Linked DNA regions of Homo sapiens: region 2 is linked to region 1. Evidence: promoter capture Hi-C in human tissues and cell types (Jung and others, 2019). All regions are on one chromosome and are shown on one strand. Each heading gives the region's core, a stretch centred on a gene start or on the middle of the fragment in contact. The rest is flanking DNA. Distances are from core to core; before and after follow the strand shown. Region 1 holds the start of RPL13 (ribosomal protein L13). Region 2 overlaps CDK10 (cyclin dependent kinase 10).

Evidence for each region. The method cuts DNA at HindIII sites, captures the fragments that hold promoters and counts their contacts. A contact is called where the count stands out against the background at its distance.
Region 2: a fragment that was not itself captured here is called in contact with the fragment with the promoter of RPL13 in region 1 in 12 of the 25 tissues and cell types used here (H1 embryonic stem cells, IMR-90 fibroblasts, aorta and 9 more).

What each region holds. Positions count from the first base shown.
Region 1 is chr16:89,556,291-89,561,931 of GRCh38, forward strand. RPL13 (ribosomal protein L13) reads left to right here and starts at 4,392. Exons shown (of 6, transcript NM_000977.4): 1 at 4,392-4,422; 2 at 4,650-4,773; 3 at 4,937-5,078; 4 at 5,288-5,461. The coding sequence starts at 4,670. It overlaps SNORD68 (small nucleolar RNA, C/D box 68), which reads left to right and starts at 5,140; the gene lies at 5,140-5,211. SPG7 (SPG7 matrix AAA peptidase subunit, paraplegin) reads left to right here. Exons shown (of 17, transcript NM_003119.4): 17 at 597-1,476. The coding sequence ends at 803. RefSeq lists silencers at 2,834-3,053, 4,595-4,864, 4,925-4,974 and an enhancer at 4,375-4,484. The HindIII fragment of the contact is 11,945 bases long and covers 1-5,641 here.
Region 2 is chr16:89,688,537-89,692,320 of GRCh38, forward strand. CDK10 (cyclin dependent kinase 10) reads left to right here. Exons shown (of 13, transcript NM_052988.5): 2 at 716-788; 3 at 2,017-2,088; 4 at 2,907-3,009; 5 at 3,270-3,351. Among named protein-coding and RNA genes, the nearest start is that of LINC02166, 3.5 kb to the left of the region's middle. The HindIII fragment of the contact is 5,257 bases long and covers 1-3,784 here.

The DNA of each region.
Region 1 (5,641 bases), core at 3,142-5,641:
AAGGAGCAGGTAATTAACAACAACAACAACAAAAAATCTGGAAGAGTTCTGCCTTCACAGAAACCAGTGAAATGTGGCTGTGGCAGTGTTTTCTGTGGTCTGGCCAGGCCACCCCAGGGGCAGGTCCACCGGCACAGGACAGTCGGTGTCTCAAGTGTTTTCCAGGATCCCACCTAGAATGGCAGAAATTCACTTCCCCAACTTGAGAGGTCCCAGCTCACACAACTTCGCCTCAGATTCCTTCTCCCAGTGCTGCTCTCCTCAATCAGGAGGGTTCAGCATTTTACCCATCTCCTTCCCTGTAGACACACACGTCTTGTTTGGTGAAAGAAATTGCAGTTGCCAAAAATAAGCCAAGATTTTGAATAGAAGTAGAAAAATTAATGAGGCTGGCCGCCGGAAAATCATTTATGAGGTTGAGATGGGGGTGATTCTTCTTTCGGAGCTGCCTCCGTGCCTCCGCTTCCCTGGGAAAGTGGCCTGTCCTGGGTGTCCTGCACACAGACAGGCCCTCACGCCTCTTGCCACCTCCCCAGGACATAGAGATGCTCTGTCTGCCCTGGGGACTCACACACTGCTATGCCTGTTCTTTCTAGCTGGCAAACGCCCTTCTGGAAAAGGAAGTGATAAACTATGAGGACATTGAGGCTCTCATTGGCCCGCCGCCCCATGGGCCGAAGAAAATGATCGCACCGCAGAGGTGGATCGACGCCCAGAGGGAGAAACAGGACTTGGGCGAGGAGGAGACCGAAGAGACCCAGCAGCCTCCACTTGGAGGCGAAGAGCCGACTTGGCCCAAGTAGTTGGGAGGTGTTGGCTGCACGTGCGGGTGGTCCGGGAAGTGAGGGCTCACTCAGCCACCCTGAGTTGCTTTTCAGCTGAGGTTTGCACTTCCTCTCGCGGCCCTCAGTAGTCCCTGCACAGTGACTTCTGAGATCTGTTGATTGATGACCCTTTTCATGATTTTAAGTTTCTCTGCAGAAACTACTGACGGAGTCCTGTGTTTGTGAGTCGTTTCCCCTATGGGGAAGGTTATCAGTGCTTCCCGAGTGAGCATGGAACACTTCGAGTTCCCAGGGTTATAGACAGTCGTTCCCAGTGTGGCTGAGGCCACCCAGAGGCAGCAGAGCATTCAGACTCCAAACAGACCCCTGTTCATGCCGACGCTTGCACGACCGCCCCAGTTCCTGTGGCTCCCTCGGAATGCTAAGGGGATCGGACATGAAAGGACCCTGTGAGCCGATTGTCCTATCTCCAGCGGCCCTGTCATCCAGCTCACTCATCAATGGGGCCAGTCAGGCCCAGGCACTGGGCTCCGGAGGACTCACCACTGCCCCCTGCTGCCATGTGGACTGGTGCAAGTTGAGGACTTCTTGCTGGTCTAGTCACGCATGCAGTGTTGGGGATGCCTTGGTTTTTACTGCTCTGAGAATTGTTGAGATACTTTACTAATAAACTGTGTAGTTGGAAAATCTACATTTGCATTGTCTGGCCAGCTCTAATGCAGAGGAGCTGGTGGGCTTGCCCTGGATCACAGGGTCTTGTGGTTTCAGTTTATAATTTGAGTAATGCAGGGACTAAGTGAAAAACTCCTTCTGTAGGAATCTGGGGCCTGGACCCCGTAGGGATAGAAGACGACCCAGGACACCCTGGCCCTGAGTTCCGGGGCATGCGGCTCCCACTCCGGCCCCCTTGCTTCTGCCCTCCCTGTGGTGCAGTGACGTGAGTGGATTGTCCTCTTGTTGCTGCAACACTGAAACGCTGGCGGAGCAGTAAGGAGGCAGCCACAGGTGCAGTCACACACCCGAGGGTGGCATCTCTGAGAGATGCCTTGACCTTTGCCCCAGTTCTCCAAATCCAAAGACCAGCACATCGATGGGAGGGTTTTAGCTGGTGTAGCCAAGGGTAGTGTCCTCGGTAATTGTTTTTTTTTTGCTGTTGTGTTGGTTTTTGGCAGAGTCTTGCTCTGTCGCCCAGGCTAGAGTGCAGTGGCGCCATCTCGGCTCACTGCAGCCTCGATCTTCTGGGCTCAAGCAATCCTCCTGACTCAGCCTCCCAAGTAGCTGGGACCGCAGGCACGCACCATTATGCCCGACTAATTTTTGTACTTTTTGTAGAGACAGGGCTAGACTCGAATTTCTGAGTTCAAGTGATCCTCCTGCCTTGGCCTCCCAATGTGTTGGGATTACAGGTGTGAGCCACTGTGCCAAGCCTTTTGTGAAATTAATTTATTATTTTTTAATTATTATTTGTTTTTGGAGATGGAATCTTGCTCTGTAGTCCAGGCTGGAGTGCAGTGGCACGATCTTGGGTCAGTGCAACCTCCGCCTCCCGGGTTCACGCCATTCTCCTGCCTCAGCCTCCCAAGTAGGTGGGACCACAGGCGCCTGCCACCACGCCCGGCTAATTTTTTGTATTTTTAGTAGAGTCGGGGTTTCACCATGTTAGCCAGGATGGTCTCGATCTCCTGACCTCGTGATCTGCCTGCCTTGGGCTCCCAAAATGCTGGGATTACAGGTGTGAGCCAGCACGCCCAGCTCTTAAATTTTTCATTTTTGAGACGGAGGCTTAACTCTGTCACCCAGGCTGGAGTGCAGTGGTGCAGTCTCGACTCACTGTAACCTCTGCCTCCTGGGTTCAAGTGATTCCCCTGTCCTACTCTCTGGAGTAGCTAGGATTACAGGTGTACACAACCACACATGGCTAATTTTTGTATTTTTAGTAGAGGCGGGATTTTGCCATGTTGGCTAGGCCGGTCTCCAACTCCTGACCTCAGGTGATCCACCCGCCTCGGCCTCCCAAAGTGCTGGGATTTACAGGCATGAGCCACCGTGCCTGGCCTGTGAAATACTTTTTTTTCTTTTTGAGACTGAGTCTTGCTCTGTTGCCCAGGCTAGAGTGCAGTAATGTGATCTTGGCTCACTGCAACCTCTGCCTCCCCAGTTCAAGCAATTCTGGTGACTCAGCCTCCTAAGTAGCTAGGATTACAGGCATGCGCCACCACGCCCAGCTTTTTTGTATTTTTAGTAGAGACAGGGTTTCACCATCTTAGCCAGGGTGATCTCAAACTCTTGACCTCGGCTGATCCGCCCACCTCAGCCTCCCAAAGTGCTGGAACTGTGAAATTCTTAAAATGTGGATTACGTTGGCCAGGCACGGTGGCTCACGCCTGTAATCCCAGCACTTTGGGAGGCCCAGGCGGGCGGATCGCGAGGTCAGGAGATCGAGACCATCCTGGCTAACACAGTGAAACCCCGTCTGTACTAAAAATACAAAAAATCAGCTGGGCGTGATGGTGGGCGCCTGTAGTCCCAGCTACTTGGGAGGCAGAGGCAGGAGAATGGCGTGAACCCGGGAGGCAGAACTTGCAGTGAACAGAGATCGCACCACTGAACTCCAGCCTGGGCAACAGAGGGAGACTCCGTCTCAAAAAAAAAAAATAATAATAAGTTTTACCAGGAGGAAGCGTGGTGATTGGGTGAGGGTAGGGAAGAAAGAGGGTTATTGGGATTTAAAGGTTTCCAGGTAGCAGTAAGATGGATGGTGCCTTCACAGACTTATACTAGAGAAGAGATGGCTTTTTGTTGATGCTTTTCTTTGTGAAGGAAGGCAGTAGGCACAGCAGGTCAGAGTGTGACATTTTCAGTCGGGTACCCCTGACCTTAGAGAAGTCACCTAATCCTGGGCCAAGGGAAAGCGACAGAGGCCAACAGTAACTCCGTCTACTAAAATACCAAAAATTAGCAGGGTGTGGCGGCGGGCGCCTGTAATCCCAGCTACTCGGGAGGCTGAGGCAGAATTGCTTGAACCTGGGACGCGGAGGCTGCAGTGAGCCGAGATCGCGCCATTGCACTCCAGCCTGGGCGACGGAGCGAGACTCCGTCTCCAAAAAAAAAAAACAAAAAAAAAAACCACAAATGTTCTAAATGGATGGGAGGAGAATAAACGCTGGAACGACAAGGACGAAGGCCTTAGGTTGCGCAAACTCGGATGTCACTGAAGTTTTTCTGCCTTTGCGCTGCAAACGTGTCTCACAAATGTGAACAAACAGAATTCCTCGGGCGTCGCCCGTTCGCCGTCGGCCCAGATACCGGACTCGCGCGCGTTAGCCCGCAAGACAGGACTCGGCCGCGGCCCGCGCAGCGGCTGAAGCGCCGGGGCAGTAACGGCGGACGTCAAGCAAGTCCGGCCGTCGGTTACTCAGGGCCCAGGAATCACGGCCGCCCCGCCGCATTCTCAGCGGCAACATGTCTGCGACGGCGGCCCTAGGGCTGCCGGGAGAGCCGCGGCGACGTCAGTTCCTCCTTTCGGGGCTCTGATTGGTCAGAGCGCCCGGCGCTTCTGGTTGGCCGGCCCTGCTATCATCCCAGAGTGCATTGCGGGGCCGCTTCCTTTCCGCTCGGCTGTTTTCCTGCGCAGGAGGTGAGGGAGACTGGGTCCTGGCCTTTGGGCATCATCCAGCGCCATCGGCCTGGCGCTTCAGCCAACGCGGGAGTGGATGGGCCCCTTCTTCTTCGCAGACAGCGTTCGGCCGCTGCCCGGGCTCTAGGCGCGGCCGGACGGCCCAGTCTGGAGGGTTCGGGGCGGAGGCCCGGGGGGGTGCGCGCGCCCGGGGTCCGGCCTCTCACTCGCTCCCCTCTCGTCCGCAGCCGCAGGGCCGTAGGCAGCCATGGCGCCCAGCCGGAATGGCATGGTCTTGAAGCCCCACTTCCACAAGGACTGGCAGCGGCGCGTGGCCACGTGGTTCAACCAGCCGGCCCGTAAGATCCGCAGGTGAGCCCTGCGCTCGGGGCTGCCCCTGGGGCTCGTGCCCGCGGCTGCGCCTTGGCTTGCGGGTGGCCGATGCCAGGGCGGGGGGCGCTGTCTGCAACCGTCGCGGAGCGCTGGCCTGGCGGCCTTAGGCAAGGGTGACCGCCGCTGCGCTTCTCTCCACCAGACGTAAGGCCCGGCAAGCCAAGGCGCGCCGCATCGCCCCGCGCCCCGCGTCGGGTCCCATCCGGCCCATCGTGCGCTGCCCCACGGTTCGGTACCACACGAAGGTGCGCGCCGGCCGCGGCTTCAGCCTGGAGGAGCTCAGGGTGAGTACTGGCAGCGCTGCGGTGTCAGGAAGGCCCCGAAGTCCCCTCTGTTGGCCTCAGTCGCGTGATGACATTCTCCGGAATCGCTGTACGGCCTTGATGAAAGCACATTTGAACCCTTTTCCATCTGATTGCTGAGGCTTTTCATCCAGGCCTCGGGGCTGGAGAAAGCCCGGGCCTGTCTCCATCTCTCTCTGGTTCTGGGGCAGGTGGCCGGCATTCACAAGAAGGTGGCCCGGACCATCGGCATTTCTGTGGATCCGAGGAGGCGGAACAAGTCCACGGAGTCCCTGCAGGCCAACGTGCAGCGGCTGAAGGAGTACCGCTCCAAACTCATCCTCTTCCCCAGGAAGCCCTCGGCCCCCAAGAAGGGAGACAGTTCTGTGAGTACACGGCTCTCTGGCCGTCCTGGTGCGCGGGGACAGTGAGGCTTGGCTCCTTTATCAGTGACACCGGTCCCTGGGTCTTGCTGGGGTGAGAAGAACCAAAACATTGTGGGTGATGAGCTAAGCGGGACTGCTAAGGTTCACCTGTGCGTTTCCGCAGAGATAACCTTAATGGAC
Region 2 (3,784 bases), core at 44-2,543, 130 kb after region 1:
CATTTTTTCTTCCCGTCACTGAGGTGAGAAGAGGTGAAAGCTTCCTTTCACCTGGAAGTCACACGGTCCCTTCAGCTCACATTCCAAGGCCAGATGCCACTGGGTAGCGTTTCATAACTTCCAGGAGGTAGTGATACAGGGATGCTGGGACAGCAGCCTCTGCCACAGATGTATTTTTGTATGTGGGATTGAAAGGGAGTATCTGAGTGGCCGCCTCTGATATTTCTTTCAAAGCATTGGCCCAGTATCGTCACCACCTTTTCTCATCAGAAAAGCCCAAGAGGCCGGGTACGGTGGCTCACGCTTGTAATCCCAGCACTTTGGGAGGCCAAGGCGGGCAGATCACTTGAGGTCAGGAGCTCAAGACCAGCCTGGCCAACATGGTGAAACCCAGTCTCTACTAAAAATAGAAAATTAGGCGGTTGTGGTGGCACCTGCCTGTAATCCCAGCTACTCAGGAGGCTGAGGCCGGAGAATCACTTGAACCCAGGAGGCGGAGGTTGCAGTGAACCATGTTCTTGCCACTGCACTCCAGCCTGGGCAACAGAGCGAGACTCAGTCTCAAAAAAAGAAAAAAAAAGCCCAAACGTGTGGTTGCCTTTCTGTTTGGTGAGCAAGACGTGAGTGGGCTCCCTGGTACAAATTCCATTTGAAATTTCCTCAGTTGTTCCATCAGCTGCCAAATTTCCACACTGGCAACACCCTTCTGTTTCAGCTGGGACGATGCCGGAGTGTGAAGGAGTTTGAGAAGCTGAACCGCATTGGAGAGGGTACCTACGGCATTGTGTGTGAGTGGCCAAGGCTAGGACATGTGGCCGCAGCTCGTGGCTGTGACAGTGTGGGACGAGACTGTCGAAGCAGCAGCCGCGTTGGGGCTGGAAGGGACTCAGACCCTGTGCTCTGAAACAGGGCAGAAACCTGTTCAGGAACTTCAATTCCTGATGTAGTTATCACAAACATTGTACCATTTCTGGGTAAACGTAAGCATCCGGTTGCTAATGCCCATAATCCAAACGTGTCACTGCAGAGTACACAGAACTGTTAGAGAAATAAAATACAGAACTTTCCAGAAGCAGCAGGAGCTGGACATGGTGCTCATGTCTATCACCTCAGCAACTCTGGAGGAGTCACCTGAGCCCAGGTGTTTTTTCTTTTTGTTTGTTTTTGAGATGGGTCTTGCTCTATTGCCCAGACTGGAGTGCAGTGGCATGATCATAGCTCACTGCGGCCTCGACCTCCTAGGCTCAAGTGATCCTCCCACCTCAGCCTCCTGAGTATCTGGGACCACAAGAGTACATAAGCACACCCAGCTAATTTTTAAATTTTTGGTAGAGATGGGATCTCCCTATGTTGCCCAGGCTGGTCTTGAACTTCTGGGCTCAAATGATCCTCCTGCCTCGGCCTCCCAAAGCACTGGGATTACAGGTGTGAGCCACTGCACCCGGCCAAGCCTAGGAGTTTGAGGCTGCAGTGAGCTGTGATCACGCCACTGCACCCCAGCCTTGGCAACAGAGTGAGACCCTGTCTCAAAAAAACCAAAAACACCACACACAACTAAAGGTTATAACAGATGTGAAATTGGCGTAGGTCATTCTGGAAGCTGCACACATTAGCAGGATGTTTTGTAGAGCCATCTTCACACAAAATAAGGTTTGCTTTTTTCTGCATAGAGTACCTTATTTGCTTTTAGGACATTACAAGAGAGCACAAAGCAGTGATCTGCATGCTAAGGAGGACATGGAGAGCCTGGAGCCACAGAACTGAGTGGCTGGAGGCCAGGGTCCAGCACAGAGCAAAGTTGGGCACCCCCTGCCCAGTTCAAATGAGGAAACCCTCCGGGGGAACGCGTCTCGGGCTAGGGGCGTTGCACAGAGTGGGGACTGAGTGTCACTGGGCATGAGGTTGTCAGAGGAAAGAACGGGGACCCCTGTGGCTCAGGGAGAGCCTCCCGTTCAGCGCTAGGGAGCCCACGAGGGGCATCGAGATGATGTCATCACCAATGTGTTTCCATTCCAGATCGGGCCCGGGACACCCAGACAGATGAGATTGTCGCACTGAAGAAGGTGCGGATGGACAAGGAGAAGGATGGTGAGCAGGAAATTGGGGTGTTGGGACCTCGCACTGGGAGGAGGCAGAAGGATGTGAGTTACCTGAAGTTTCCTCAGAGCGACTGCACGGTGCTTGTAGCGGGGGCCGGCCTCTGGGAGGGTTCTGGTGTGGCCCAGCACATCACCCCCAGGTCCACACGCAGCCTCAGCTGTCTGCCAGGAGGGCTCTGCAGTCTCCATCCCCTCCTCCCCCTCCTGTCTGGTGAGGCCACCTCACTGCAGGCTCAGCTCTGCTGTCCCCTCCACCCCCAGCACCTGCCTGTGCAGGCAGGGCCCTGCCATGCCCCACATAGATGTCCACGGTGTTTAGAGAGGTGCCGATTCGTATTTGGTCAAGGAAGAGTTAAAAGTGCTTATTGGGCCGGGCATGGTGGCTCATGCCTGTAATCCCAGCACTTTGGGAGGCCGAGGCAGGCGGATCACCTGAGGTCGGCAGTTCAAGACCAGCCTGACCAACATGGAGAAACCCCATCTCTACTAAAAATACAAAATTAGCCAGGCGTGGTGGCACATGCCTGTAATCCCAGCTACTAGGGAGGCTGAGGCAGGAGAATTGCTTGAACCCGGGAGGCAGAGGTTGCGGTGAGCCGAGATGGTGCCATTGCACTCCAGCCTGGGCAACGAGCGAAACTCCGTCTCAAAAAAAAAAAAATGCTTATTGGGGTCGCCCCAATTCTCCCTGAGGTGGGGACACTGCAGCACCTGCTATCAGGTGTTCGTGAAGCCCAAGAGTGGCTGGGGTTGGGGCTTCCCCGCCATCACTGGGGTGGGGCTCGCTGAGGCCACCTCCCTCCCCAGGCATCCCCATCAGCAGCTTGCGGGAGATCACGCTGCTGCTCCGCCTGCGTCATCCGAACATCGTGGAGCTGAAGGAGGTGGTTGTGGGGAACCACCTGGAGAGGTACGTGGTCTCCTGGTCTGCACATTGGGCCCTAGGGAGCATGTGTCTTGGGCTAGAGGTGTTGCACAGAGCGAGGACTGAGTGTCACTGGGCATGAGGTTGTCAGAGAAGAGATGACCCCACCTCACCGCCTGGCTCAGCCCATTGTCTGAGGGGGACACAGGTTGTCCTGCCCATGTCCCCTCCTGCAGCAGGGGAGGCTCCACTTCCACCCCTTAGGAGAAGGCCGGAGAGTGGCATGCATCTTCTGTTTCTTCCAGCATCTTCCTGGTGATGGGTTACTGTGAGCAGGACCTGGCCAGCCTCCTGGAGAATATGCCAACACCCTTCTCGGAGGCTCAGGTGCGTGGCAGAGGGGCCTGGGGTGGGGGAATGGGCTTCATGGGCCCTTGTGGTGCACATTTATAACGAAACAGGGCACTTGGGGACTTGAAGAGCTGCTGCTGCCTCTGCCTCCACCTCCCAGTGTTTCAGCGAGCTTCAGTGAGGTGGAATTCCTGTGGTGGGGGCATCTGCTGGGAGCGGGCAGCCCCAGGGCCGAGAGCCTTATGAGGGCACTGGTTTCCTGGGCTGTTGGGAGCAGGCAGCCCCGGGGCTGAGAGCCTTCTGAGGGCACTGGTTTCCTGGGCTGCTGGGAGCGGGGAGCCCTGGGCGGAGAGCCTTCTGAGGGCACTGGTTTTCTGGGCTGCTGGGAGAGTGCAGCCCCGGGGCCAAGAGCCTTGTGAGGGCACTGGTTTCCTGGGCTGCTGGGAGCGTGCAGCCCCGGGGCCGAGAG